2 separate regions of the Homo sapiens genome follow, and region 2 is linked to region 1. The links are contacts of gene promoters, found by promoter capture Hi-C in human tissues and cell types (Jung and others, 2019). All regions are on one chromosome and are shown on one strand. Each heading gives the region's core, a stretch centred on a gene start or on the middle of the fragment in contact. The rest is flanking DNA. Distances are from core to core; before and after follow the strand shown. Region 1 holds the start of KISS1 (KiSS-1 metastasis suppressor). Region 2 overlaps PLEKHA6 (pleckstrin homology domain containing A6).

Region 1 (7,049 bases), core at 22-2,521:
CTATGAGGGTCAGTGCTGTCCTCATAGGCTATCATTTCTGTCCTGGTGTTTAACAGCCCTAATGGGTGTGATAATAATATGTTTGCAATCCCCTGTTAACAGTAAGCATCAGACAAGTGAGGGGTGCTAACCTGCAGACTGCCGGCATGCTTCTCCAGCATTAGGGGACGACCAGGTTGAGCTTGTGCTGGGAGAGCGTCCTGTCTGAGGGTAGAGACATAGCCCCTGCCTTCAGAGACTCCCAGCCTGATAGAAGAAACAGTCTCTGCCCTGGAGAGCCCCTTGTCCAAGGGTATAGAGAGTTATTGCAGGCTCAAGAAAGAGACAAAAGTCACTTGCGATGCATGCAGTTAGCAAATATCTATTGAGGGCCCTCTCTGTATGTGCCCAGCAATGGAGTGGGTGCCAAGGGTACAGGGGGAAGGGGGCCTGTCCCTGTCCTCAAAGTGCTGTACCTGAGCAGTCACAAAATAGTATGGTGGTGGGTGCCACGAGACAAGAAGGTGGGGCCCCCAAGCAGGCTGTCTGGATGTGCTGCCACCTGGAAGTCCCCTCTCTGCACCCCTGGCACTTCCCAGGTGCATCCACCTTCTGCAGCTCCCATTTCGTCCTCCTTGCTCATAGCTGGTTGCTTACCTAAGGTCTCTGACCAGTCCATAGCCTATTCACCTCAAAACCCTGCGCTGAGGAAGCGCTCAGTGACCGAGGAAAGAAGGGAAGCAGGAAGGAAGGAAAAAGGAGAGAATCTCTGCCACCACCACCCTGTGCCAGTCACAGGGCGCAGTCTAGGAGCCGCCTGGAGACCCACGCTGACCTGGCTTTCCCTCAGAGCTGGGAGCATGGGATGTGAGGAGCCCCTGGGTCAGCCTGTGCCCTTCTCCTCCCCTCTTCCTGTCGTTTTCTACGTCTAATTCAGACTAGGTGTGTCTGTGGCTCTTCGGAGAGGAAACAAGACATTTCACACTGACACTTCTCCCCACCCTCCTCAGATAGCCCATTTCCACGTTGTTTGGGGGCAGGATGGGTCCTCTGGGTGGGAAGAGGGTGTGGAGGATGGAAAGAGCCGGTAAGAAGGAGAAAGTCCCGCCTCGGAGGGCTCGGGTGGGGCAGGAGGAGAGGCTGCCTCCAGTCACAGAGCCCGGAGGCAGAGGCCTCCCAAGGTGCCATGCTCTTCAGGAGGGTCTGAGGAGGAGGGAGGGGCGGCAGAGTGGGCCTGTGCTTGGAGACGTCACCCCGGGCTTTATAAAAGGGATGTGATCAGGGAGCTGGGGAGAACTCTTGAGACCGGGAGCCCAGCTGCCCACCCTCTGGACATTCACCCAGCCAGGTGGTCTCGTCACCTCAGAGGCTCCGCCAGACTCCTGCCCAGGCCAGGACTGAGGCAAGGTAGGCACACTGCAGTGTCCACCCCTGGGAAGGGGGTCTGCCCTGACCTGGGGATGCTCTGGAGGGGAGCAGGGAATCCGTTCTAAGACGGACAGATGCATCCAGGCAGGCAAAGGCAGGGGAGGGAGACACTGATCTTTCCTGTTTACCAGCCTGGCCAGATTATCCTGGGATGCCTGGGCGAATACACTGAGTCGCACTTTATTTGTGAAGCTAACACTCTGGGGATCCCGAGGGCTCTCTCTTGCTGTGGAAGGAATACATGCAATAAATAAATGCTGTGGCTGGAATTAGAGACCACAGACACGCTTGGATGGACCTAGGGAACCGCTCGGGGCTCTTGAGAGCAATGGGGCTCCTCTGAGCAGCTCCCCCCAAATTACAGATGGCAAATACAAGCCTAACCAAGGGCATCTACCTACCCACTAAGAACTAGGGGCCACTTCACTCCAGAAGCTTTCCAACCATGCCTGGAATTTCTGTCACTCACTGGATACAAACCCCCCAGGGTGGAGGGAACCACAAAAATTGTCTACAGCAGGTCGGCCACTCATGGCCCCTTTCCAAATAATTCATTTCTACCATATATGTTAAGTGCCCCGATGGGCTGGGCAGTGGAATCTGTGTGTGTGTGTGTGTGTGTGTGTGTGTGTGTGTGTGATATGTGTGTATGGGTGTATGTGTGTATATGTGTGTGATGTGTGTGCGCATGTGTGGTGTATGTGGTGTATGTGTGTGTATGATGTACGTGTATGGGTGTATGTGTGTATATGTGTGTGGCGTGTGTGTGCATCTGTGGTGTGTAGTGTATGTGTACGGGTGTATGGGTATATATCTGTGTGGTGTGTGTGCATGTGTGGTATGTGTGGTGTATGTGTGTGTATGATGTGTATGTATGGATGTGTGTATGTGTGTGTGTATGTTGTGTGTATGGGTGTATGTGTGTATATGTGTGTGTGGTGTGTGTGCGTGTGTGGTGTGTGTGCATGATGTGTGTGTATAGGTGTATGTGTGTATATGTGTGTGGTGTGTATGCGTGTGTGGTGTGTGTGGCATATGTGTATGTGTGTGTATGGGTGTATGTGTGTGGTGTGTGTGGTGTATGTGTGTGTGTATGATGTGTGTGTATGGGTGTATGCGTGTATATGTGTATGGGTGTGTGCGTATATATGTGTGTGGTGTGTGTGTGCATGTGTGGTGTGTGTGGTGTATGTGTGTGGTGTGGGGGGTGTGTGTGTGTGTGCTGGGGTCAGGCAGAGTTGTCCCATGGCGCACATGGTAAGTGCCATCCACAGTGGGAAGGAGGCACTCGGGGGGAAAGGGGAGCCGGAAGAAAGAGTACCACCCTCCAACCACACAAGCCCACTGCCCTCCTTCCTGGCCCACCACCCTGCTTCCGCACAGAGAACCGGAAATGTACATCTACCCACATTCCTGTCTGGCTCAGACCCCTCCAGGATGAAGCCCCTGCAGGGCCCCTTCCCCCAGCCTTGTCACTAGCTTTCTCTCCATGCAAAGCTCCATCCTCTTGTCTAGCTAGAGGGCCTGAAGTTCCCTTTGCACTCAGCCCCTGCCCTTGCTTCAGCGCCTTAGCACCGTCCTGGGAACACTTTCTGTAAACCTTTCAGCGATTCATGCTCAGAAACAGCTCAAGTGCCACCCCCTGCCAAAAATCTGCCTGGTCCTCCTAGGTTGGGTTCCCCTGGACTCCCATATCCCCTTGTGGATTCACATGCATCCGGTATGTCATTTACAGTGTTATTTTGAAATGATCTGCTGATGAGTTAATTTCTCATGCTAGACTTGAGATCTTGGGGGCAGCAACTCTGTCTTAGCACACCTGTGCACCCCTAGCACCTAGCACAGCACCAGCACCTAGTCGGTGCTCAAGGAGTGATTTCCAAATCAACCCAGACCCTGTGCATCCACGGTCTGAAATGCTTTTACACTATTCTCTCCAATGGATTAATCCTACCTCTACTCCGTGCCCCAGCCCTGGGCCTTAAGGTAAATGCAGAAAGCTGTGGTCTGGGTTTCAACTTGTCACAGTATCAAAGTCTGCAAGGATAAGTAAACTTCTGAGCAGGTGGCTGGTGGCCAATCTGATCCAGGGTTCTTATTTTATAGATGGACCAATGAGGTCTGGAGATGGGGGTGACTTGCTCACATTTCACAGGGAATGAAAGCAGAGCTGGGGCAAGATTCAAGTACTCCTCATTCCATTTCAGGGTTCTTACTCTTTACTCCATGCCTGAGTCCTGCAGGGAGCTGGGTGAGGAATGGGGGGTGGGGGTGTGGGTGCAAGAGCAGAGAGATGCATGGGCCTGAGCCACCATTAGGAGCTGATGGGCACAAAAGGTTCTCATCCCCCAGTCCCCCTTCCCCAGGGAGAGCGGCTCCAGGCTGTGGGTCAGGCCAGGACAATCTTTTTGCTCAGCTGGCATTGCTCCTGCCTCCCCAGCCTTTTGTCTTTAATCGTGTTTGTTGGACAGTCTCAAAGTGTCTGGTGACTTTTTCAAAAAGAAATTAGATTTGGGAGCCGGAAGAGGTAGGGTGGGGTATGTGGGGTGTCGGTGGGGCAGAGCAAGGCAGGGTGATGGGAAATGGTGTGAGGATCAGGGCACACGGCTCCCATCTCAGCAGCCAAAATGATGAGGCCAATTCAATTCATAGCCTCTTAGAGTCCACAAAGAATAGACTATGGAGATAACTGACCTGATAAATCAAGGAAAGGTTTTTCTTTTCCATGAATGATAGGCAATAAGACAATTTAATGACCGTCTTCAAGGCTGTGAAGGGCTATGAGAGAGAGCAAGATGATTGCCTCTTTCTTTCTTTTTCCTTATAAAAGAAAAAGAAATAAGTTTCTCTTACAGCAGGAGAGAACAAGGTCAGACTCAAGCGTATGGATGGGGAGAGTGGAACACAGAAAGTTGTGGATTTGTGCAGAACCCACCATGGAAGGAAGAAGTGCCTGTTGCCAGGCTCCCGAGAGAATATTGGAACCTCAAAGTTCCCCACTCAGTGCCCTGAAGTCCTTGCCCTACTTCACCCCTCCCCAGTCACTCCTATATATGGCATCTCACCCCACCTTTCTCAAACATTCCTCTCAAGCAACCCTGAGATTCAGAATCCTGGCCATTCTCTGACCCAAGCAGTCCTGCCCCTTCCACCAAATTGGGTCTTTCCTTTTTTCCTAACTTTACTGTCCTCACCTCCTCCAGGAAGCCCTCCCTGATGACCCTCACCTAGCATGAATTCAGCTTTAACTACACTGTGTAAAGAGTCTCAATCCCATTTCACTGATATATTTGTTTAGACTCATCCCTCTACCAGGAGCCTCCAAAGGCAAGAACTTGCCCCTCTCTTGGAGGACTGTCCCTTTTGCACTGGGCTCTGCCCTCAGCACCCAGCCCAGATCCTGTGCCTGACCTAGTCTTTGTTCCCTCTCTCTGTCTCAGCCTCAAGGCACTTCTAGGACCTGCCTCTTCTCACCAAGATGAACTCACTGGTTTCTTGGCAGCTACTGCTTTTCCTCTGTGCCACCCACTTTGGGGAGCCATTAGAAAAGGTGGCCTCTGTGGGGAATTCTAGACCCACAGGTATGTATCCTCTGGGGAAAGGAGTGGGAGGGAGCAAGTGGGTTGTTGCAAAATGAGCTTTCCCGTATTTTCCATCTAGTCGACTGGTGTGAGTTTAACATTGCATTTGGTGGAAATCTAAGACTGGCACACATGCAACTCATTGAGGGGGTCCTGTTAACCCTGCAAGTGACGGATGCCTTGCCTCTGTGATGGCCTCAGTCCGCCCACCTAGGTTCCAGGGCTTATTAACCCTTGAGCTCTTTCATGGTTTCCTCACACTGTGTTCTCTGCTCTACGTCAGCAACCTCTCTGTGCCGATGTTGAGAAGAAACTTCATATGCAACCTTGCTTTATCGGTGACCTCAGATTCTTTGTGGAGAATTTGGAAAAAAAAAAAAACCTAAACCAAAGGGCAGATATTTGATACCTATTAACCTTTTGGAGACAATGAACTGTCTCCAGTTCATTGGGGAACTGATAAGCTGGAAAATTTGAGACCCACAGAGGTAAAGAGATTTCCCCAGAGTCGCTCAAACACTGTGGAAACCCAGCAGGTGTCAGAGCTCCCCAGGAGTGTGTCTGGTGAGTGGCACAAGCTAGAACAATACTAGTCCCCAAGTCAGGAGCTGTGGCTTGGCACACTTCCTGGTGTCAGCTTTCTGGGCAAACTAGAACCCATGACTTAGCTTCTCTGGACCTGAGTTCCCCCAGCTATAAAACTTGGGGCATGCCCTCTACACATTTGATGTCATCGTATATGCCCATAAGACCTTCCAGAGCACAGAGGACACGGCCCCGGGTGTCGTTTGCCAAGCGTGTCTTCTGTCCTGGGATCAGGCGTTTTTCTGGGTGAGGGAGGCTACCCCAGAAAATAACCCCACACTGCCCAGGGATATAGGGTTGTTGGCTCTTTTTGGCAAAAGGCTTTAGGTGAGGTCACCAACAGCAGCCTGAACAGTGATTTACTACTGGTCTAGCGTGCGCAACTGGGGAGGAAGCCATCCTCCTCCTACCTCAGCCAGGCCCTGGGCAAGGGCTGAGGGACCTCGCAGGCGACTGCCATTAACTCTGGACCAGGTCCACACTCCTCTTTTCCAGACTGTGCCAGGGCACGGAGGAGCAGGGCTCAAAGCCAACTGCCGCCCCAGCACATCTATTCACACCCATTCACACACCAGGCCTCATTTCCACTAATCTCTTGCCGCAATGGGCTGGGGTTATTGTCTACACAGAGCTAGTTGCCCTATTTTACAGCCAAAAAGTACAGTGAACTTAATGAGCCTTGCATGTGAAGTGCCTTCCAAATTAGCCTTGTTAATCCTCAGAATGAAGGAGAGAAGTTATACCCAGGATGGAGGAAGAGAGCCAGTTAAGGTGACCTAGATAATTTTTGTTTCTCATTGAGTCCTTATGTAGCTTATTGGGCGGGGTTGGGGGGGTGGGTGGTCACAATTCTTATCAAAGACGAGTGTTGGAACACAGGTGTGTGGGGCCACAATGTCTTAGCTCCACTTTCTCGATTTCTGTTACTACACGTTTTTAGCTTTTATGTATTTAACAGGCATTTATTGAGGCCCCACTATGAGCAAGCCACTGTTTCAAGCACTATGAGAGATACAGAGATGAATTAACATGGCCCCACTGCCCAGGCTGCTCACAGCCAGGAAGGGGCCCAGAGCTGGGTGTTCAGCAAATACTTTGGTTTTCTTTATTTCCATGCCCTACCCTGTTTGTTTCCTAAAAGGAAGTAACGTAATATGAGAGTTATTTAAGATAATTCTGGCAAACATTCTAAATCAAAGCTATGTTGGAAGAGGGAGGCGCCTAGGGCCTAATCATCCCAGCTAAGGTGATCGTGCTGGTTCGCATGGCACTGAGCTCCGAGCTTCCAAAAGGTCAAGGAAGGAAAAGAAGGATAGGATGGGATGACAGGAGGTGTTGCAAAGCCATCTTTCCCGGACCCCGGCCTCATCTTTCTGTGCCCTCTGTCCTAGGCCAGCAGCTAGAATCCCTGGGCCTCCTGGCCCCCGGGGAGCAGAGCCTGCCGTGCACCGAGAGGAAGCCAGCTGCTACTGCCAG
Region 2 (7,277 bases), core at 3,678-6,177, 87 kb before region 1:
CTTTAAAATTATCTTAGTCCAAGGGAGTGAACTGCTCAGCGCAGAAGCCAGAGATACAAACCATTGTCTGTCCTGATGTCAAGACAATGGTTTTGTGTGGCCACCCTGAGCACAAAGCTGGAGCTGCTAGTCTTCCTCCTTCTCTCTGAGCCATTGTCTCCAGAGAGGCGCTCGGTAGCTCTGGTCAGAAGCAGCGTCGGCCTCTCTTGTGGGCCGATTTCCTGGATGGGGCCACGGGAGGAAGGTGGAGGGGACAGAGCCACAGGAGACTGGCATGGCTGTGCTCCTGGTTTTATCCTTTTACTTAGCAGAGTCAGGTGTGGTGAGATGTAGGGTAAGACAGAACCTGGCGGGGGTGGGTGCAGAGAGTTGCGGGGAGAACTCTTCACTCATTAAGAAGACAAGGTTGTCAGTTGAGAACAAAACTGAAATCCAGGGAGAAAGAGAACCAACCTTTTGCATTTAGATTTCTGTTGCCCCCATTCCCTCAACTTCCCCTTCAGGTCCCTCATCCCTTCAACCTCCAAAACATTTGTGCTCTTTGACCCTGGCACCTTCTAATGACAGTTTTGTGGAGGGGGTGTGGACAAGAATTCCTTGGCTTGGAGGAGGAGGTGGACGCACTGGCTTTTCTCAGCTGATGCTATCTCTCTGTGTGTGTACTCATGAATGCCCACGTGATTTAAAAAAAAAAAAAAAGAGGGAGACTGTCACCAAAAAGGAAGTGCTTACTTTACTCTCCTCCCGCCCCCAGCTAGGAGCCCTTTTGTTCCCTTGCCTCTTTCTTGGGAGGAAAGAGATTCGATGACATAGTGATGCTAGGTTGAACCTAGGGAGGAACTCGGGGCTCTGGAGAGCCTATTAGGTGGGAACAGGGTGCTCCCTGTGCCAGTTTAGAAAGCAGATTCGAGCGATAAGGTAAACCCAACCCCCTTGTGGCTTTCAGCTGTGGTGCTTCCTCTGGCTGGGCTGCCCATGGGCAAACAGAAACCAGGCACAATAGGGGGAAGGTGCCAGCCACTAGACCCAGCAGGGCGAGAGCAGAAGCAGCCAAGTTTCTGGGCATTTGAGGCCAAGAAAGAAGGGGAAGTAGAGTATAGGAGAGGAACGGGGATACTTGTTGTGTTCTGCCTCATATTGAGAGTCAGCCACAAATGTGACTAGCCAACCTCCATCCCTACACTCCCAGGAGAAGTATACTGGGATTGTTATTTCCAGGCAGGGCAGGGGGGCTTCATGGGGGATGCAAACTGTGCAGTTGCCCCACATGCTTGGTTTAATGCTCTGCTATTGCTGTCTTGAAATCCTTAAGTTTTGCACAAGGGGCCCGCAAATTGTGCAGCTGGTCTTATTTCCTGGCCCAGCCAGAAGTTGCAGGTGCAGAATAGTTGCTCATATACTCCAACAGGTGTAGGCAGGCTCACCTGTTACTCAGGTGTCACTTATGGAGGCCGGCTTCTGTCCCGGCTGGCACCTGTGCTGCATCCCTTTCCCTTTCCTCCTCTCTGTTCCCCTCCCAGAGTACTCTATTCCTCCTTGTCACAGCCTCCATGCCCAGTCTTTCTTCACGGCTGCTGCGTGGCAGGACAGGGGTGGGAACAGCAGTGTCCCTTGTCTGACTGCCTCCCTGCCTTCCTTCTCAGGCCCTCTCTTTTCCTTATCTGGGCTATAGCCAGCAGGTTCTCTAGGCTAGGTCTAGGCCTAGGAGCACCTCTTCCGTTCCTCTGAGATTGTCTTCCCTCCCCTCTGTAAGCCCCGGTTATCAGTGGATGCTCTCTGGCACCTGCTTCTTGTGATGTCTGCTTAGCAACAGGTTGTTTACCTGTGATTTCCATAGGATCCAGGTCTGGATGAGTGCTGGGTGGGGAAGGGGAGGTGCAGGGAAGGAAGAATCCTAAGCCTGCTGTCCTTGGTGGTACTTCCTCTACCCTGTCCTCCTCCATGCCAGCTTCTCCTGCTCTGGACCAAATGGCCCCACAGAAGACCTCCCTTTCCTCCTCCTCCCCCAAGCGTCAGCTAGAGGTTGGCCAATCCAGGAAGGAAAAGGAAAGCAGGAGGGAGGAACAGGTCCTCTGTGTCTCCAGCCTCCTCCCCAACTCTTCTTCCTTCTCCAACTCTTCTCTCCCAGCCTCCTTAAGCTGCTGGATGACCTTTTCCAGTGTTTCCTACCAGGCCAGTGCTGTTAGTAATGATACTTTCAAACTGTGCAGAGGAGTCTTAATGCATGTGATTTAAAAATAATGAGCCTGGCCAACACGGCGAGACCGTGTCTCTACTAAAAATACAACAAATTAGCCAAGCGTGGTGGCCCGTGCCTGACGTTCCAGCTACTGGGGAGGCTGAGGTGGGAGAATTGCTTGAGCTCAGGGAGCGGAGCCTGCGGTGAGCCAAAATCGCACTACTGAACTCCAGCCTGGGATACAGAACAAGAACGTGTCTCAAAAAAAACAAAAACAAAAACAACCAAAAAAAAACCAACAACAACAACAAAAACAACAAAAAACCCAAAAAAACGAAAACAATGGATTGTCCAGATTAATTCTGAGTGAACTTTGGAGTATATCATTTCTGATTTTTAACTTTTTGTTGTTGACAGCAGATTTTCCTTTCTTTTTAGCTTAGTTTAGGTCTATGAGGGAACTTGTATTTACTGAAGACACTGAGCTCATCAGCTGGTGGAAGGATACACTGGCTTAGAATTGCATTTCATAGAATTCAAAACTATTAGAACTGGAAGGTGGCTTAGAGAACATCTAGCCTAGTGCTGTCCAATAGAATGTTCTACAATGATGGAATGTCCTGTGACTATTCTGTCCCGTATGGTAACCACTAGCTACTGTGGCTCTTGAGACACAGTGAAATGTGGCTAGTGTAACTAGGAACTGAAATTTTAATTTTATTTAATTTTAATTATTCAAGATAGAATACGGCTAGTGGCTATCAACTTGGTGCAAATTTAGGATAGTGCTATTTATTGTATTCCCTTATTTTATTAATGATTATAACATTAGCCACTACTAAACAACTCAATGTGCCAGGCATTCTTCTAGAGGTTTTAAATATTTAGTCCTCCCAGCAACTCCAGTATCGTTACATGTTGCAGGTGGGGAAACTGAGACCCAGAAAGGGACAGTGACTCAGTAGTGGTCAGTTACCAAGACTCCTGACTCTGAGACCACCGGCCTTACCCTTTTCCTTAAGGACAATCCACACGCTGTCCATTCCTTGCCATCATGTGCCAGCTTTTTTCACAACTCTCCAGTCCCTTTCCAGATCTCCCTCTTCCTCTCGGGGGCGTCAGGGGAGCTCACAAAGGATCGTCTCAGTCTGCAGCAAGTGCTCTCCTAGGCACAGTCATTTTCTGGCTGGTTCCTTGGGTGGCCCTTGTTCCTAGGCTCCCTTTGGATCCCCCACCAGCAGGCAGCAGTGCAGGGATATCGCTTTGCCCTCAGAGTCCTTGGCAAGCTCCCCAAGTACAGGGGAAGTTCCAGATTCCTTGCTCCTGGCAAAAGGAGGTGTTCATAATTTCCCACAATCCACCTGGCTCCAGCTTACCCTATTACTCCCAGTCTGAGAGAGAACATCAGCTGAGCCCTCCTTGGGGGCCGGAGGCAGAATGGGTCTCCCTGGGCAGGTGAGGAGCAGCACTACATTAGAGCCTGCTGTTGCCCCTCAACCCTTGCTGTGCTACCCTCCAGCCAGGAGGCTCCTGCTCTCCAGCTCTGGCTGGTTTACTGCTTTCCTCTTCCCAGGGCAAAGCTTCTGCTTTGTAGACTCTTATCAGAGTCTGGCTGGCCAGTAGGGAGGGGAGGGACAGGAGGGGGCATGAAGCAGATGCACTGTGCACACTGATCCCGGCGAGAGGGATTTGAGGCTGAGCTCCTGTCTCCTTCAGCCGCTATTCAGCATCCCAACTGGAACAGCACGTGCCCCCTCCTCCAGGCAGTGGTGAGCCTGCTGGCCTGCCCTACAGCTGCTCCATCAAACTCAAACAGTTATTCAGTTCCCCTGTGTGTGAGGTGCTGGGCAGGGGCACAGCAATAAAGGCCAGGCTGTGGACAGTGTTTGTGTGGCTGCCCTTCCATGCCCCTACATCCAGGCAGCTGTTGTCAGACTAAAGTTTGTGGGTAGCCCCCAGCCCACATCACACACAGTCCCCAGACCTGTAGCCCACAGATATTACCAGTGAAAGAGTTTGTGGCTTTCATTACTGTGTTCTTGGAGCAGACCTTGAAAAGCTGGCATCTCCCCCTGAACCATGAAGCTCTCTCCTGCTTTCCTAGGGGCAGGGAGCTCAGATTGGGTGCATCGCAGGAACAGAAAGAAGGGAGCCCAAGACTCAAATTTTTCTGACCTCTCCTGTCACTATAGCTGGGACAATGCACCTCAGCTTCCCTGATTCTAAAATGGGCCTTCCTTGCCTCCCTCCCAGTGTAAGGACCAGAGATTGCATGCGTTTTATTTTTCTCTTCATTCCACATGCCTTCAGAGCATCATAACCTTTCTTCCTCTGCTCTCTGGTCCAGTGGGAGATTTGTGTTGTCTGCTCAACAAGGCATCACTCAATACCATTGTTTTACTGTTAAAATGAGAAAACTAAGATACCAGACAGCTTGATTCTCAAATTGCTGGATTGGGAACCAAGAAGGCACTGGTAGCTTTTGAGGATGGGGAAGGAGAGAGATCAGCCAGCTTCATAACTCTCCAAACACCCACTTTGTAAAATTCCTTTCGTTGGGTGGGGCAGGGTGGGGTCGCTGCTCTCCGTAGGACACCAGAAGCAGATCTGCTGAGTTAGGGATGCAGAGACATGGTTTCAATGACCTTCCATAGACCCGGCGGCGGACAGCTGGGCTGCCTCAGCCACTGAAGGGCAGGGGTTTGAGATTCAACTCAGAGCTGGAAGGCGGCGGGGCGGTGGGGGGGCATAATTAATTATTGCCCTGCCCTGTTACCCCTTGGGATCCGTTCCACATTGCTGGCTGTCAGGAGAAGGCAACTTGGAGGCGAGGGGGCTGGGGCCTTTTTTCTCTGCTTCTGTCTGGCTTAGCTACTGAGGAAAGGCTGAGAGGAGGAAAACCCAGAGCTGTAGGCAGCTGGTTCTCCTTTGAATTCCCCCTCTCTTTAGAAGGGAACAAGAGCACACAGCACAAGGAGGAGCTCCAGGGAGCTGGATTGCCCCAGTTCTCCAATTTGGGTCAGGGTGAAGGAGAAAGTGTCTCCCAGCCTGCCCATGGCAGCTTCTGGGTGGTAGAATCGCAGTTCCCCACAATTGGAAGACACTTCAGTGTTGAGACAGTTAAGGACTGGCTGTACCCGGGAATGATATTCAATAATTCATCAACCAGAAAGGATGCTGGCCTGGAGTCTTGGAGGGCCCTGTGGTGCCAGGCATTAACTCTTTTGTCTCTGGGTCATGGAGATGTGAGGAGGTCTCAGACCCTGGCCCAGAGATGGGGCAGGGACACTCGAGGGACTTGGGGGAGCAGCTTTTCACCCACCAACATGGAAGAGCTTCAGTATTTGAATCACTGGCAGAGTTATGCTATCTACTCTGGTTGTCTTCATTTTTCAGCAGACAGATGGAATTCCCTAAAGTAAAACAACCAGTTTAAAGATGAACCAAGCTAGGGTGGGAGGTCAGGATGAAGTTCCCCTGTATAGTATCCATGTTTTCTCTCATGCACACACACGTGCGTGCACACACATGAGCTTGAACCCGTTACCCTGACTGAAGTACACCTTGTCCTCCTGCCCTCAGTCTGCCATCTTAGGCCTTCCTATCTCCTCTCATAGGAATAAGGGACCACCCAGGCCCAGAGCAGGGGCTGGGAGACACTACAGTGAGAAAATGGGGGAAGGACAGCACCTGAGCTGGAAGGGAAGAAACCTGGACCTGGCCCCCTGATTTGTGATTTCTCTCCCTTGTCCACGGAGCCATCTCTTCTATCTTCTGCCTGTGGTGGGAGCTGAGCTCACGTAGAAGGCCCCCAGCCTTCCATAACTGCCCATAACAGGTTTTGGGATGGGGCTGGGGGTGCGGTGTGGCTGGGCAGAGTGAAGCAGGAAAGGGAGCAGCATGAGTCTTGTCTCCTAGACATGCAGCCGAGTAGCTTAGAACATTTCAATAAACTGGCTTGGGGCAGGGAGGTACCATCTTCTTGACAGTTTGGAAATAACTGTGGCATCAAAGGGGGGATGAGCAAGGGCAGAGAAGAAAGGTGAAAGCAAATACAAGGCTGGGTGACAGCCACTGGCAGCTGGTTCCCAGCACCCAGAGAACTGGTATTTTGATCTTCAAGGAGCACATGGAAGAGAGACAGTAGGGGTTGTTGTTTTTAGAGACAGGAGGGTCTTGCTCTGTTGTTTTTTAGAGACAGGGGTCTTACTCTGTTTTTTTTGTTTTTTTGAGACGGAATCTCTGTCTGTTGCCCAGGCTGGAGTGCAGTGGCGCAATCTCGGCTCACTGCAAGCTCCACCTCCTGGGTTCACGCCATTCTCCTGCCTCAGCCTCCTGAGTAGCTGGGACTACAGGTGCCCGCCACCAGGCCCGGCTAATTTTTTGTATTTTTAGTAGAGACAGGGTTTCACTGTGTTAGCCAGGATGGTCTTGATCTCCTGACCTCGTGATCTGCCCGCCTCTGCCTCCCAAAGTGCTGGGGTGACAGGTGTGAGCCACCGCCCCCGGCCTTTTTTGTTTGTTTGTTTTTGGTTTTTTTTAGAGATGGGGGCCTTGCTCTGTTGTTTTTTAGTGACGAGGGTCTTGTGCCTCAGGTTGGGGTGCAGTGGTGTGATCATAGTTCACTGCAGTCTCGACCTCCTGGGCTCAAGTGATCCTCCTGCCTCTGCCTCTGAGTAGCTGGGACTACAGACATGTGCTACCATGCCTGGCTAAGGCAGTGTTGTTTGGAGGGGTTCCTTCCCACCTGCAAATACCTAGAAGTGCTGCCAGGGCCTGACCCTCTTTGACCTCTTCTTTATGTGGCAGCAATAGGTAGGAAAACAGAGGGCCTCTGATGAGAAGTGGCTAGGAAAGTGTATTTTCTCCTGGAAATGGCAGGGGGAGCTTCAGGAATCAGGTGCATGAAGATGGCTGGAAACATAAACTGAGTTGGTTTTTAATTGGGACAGGATGCTGAAGCAGATAAGCCTCCTTGAAAATAATGATGAGATCCAGATGGGGAGGCACAGAGCAGGAGCCAACCTTCTCCCCACCTTCCCCTCCTCTGTGGCAGCAGAAATCCTCTCTGGAGCATGGACAGTCTCGGCTTGGAATT

The links. Contacts are between HindIII fragments. The study calls those that stand out against the background at their distance.
Region 2: a fragment that was not itself captured here is called in contact with the fragment with the promoter of KISS1 in region 1 in 2 of the 25 tissues and cell types used here (aorta and mesendoderm cells).

What each region holds. Positions count from the first base shown.
Region 1 is chr1:204,190,713-204,197,761 of GRCh38, reverse strand. It overlaps KISS1 (KiSS-1 metastasis suppressor), which reads left to right and starts at 1,271. Exons shown (of 3, transcript NM_002256.4): 1 at 1,271-1,386; 2 at 4,848-4,988; 3 at 6,965-7,049. The coding sequence starts at 4,886. The HindIII fragment of the contact is 9,045 bases long and covers 1-5,393 here.
Region 2 is chr1:204,280,657-204,287,933 of GRCh38, reverse strand. The region is part of intron 1 of PLEKHA6 (pleckstrin homology domain containing A6); the gene reads left to right. Among named protein-coding and RNA genes, the nearest start is that of GOLT1A, 70 kb to the right of the region's middle. RefSeq lists enhancers at 3,430-3,929, 3,930-4,431 and a silencer at 5,016-5,219. The HindIII fragment of the contact is 6,858 bases long and covers 1,499-7,277 here.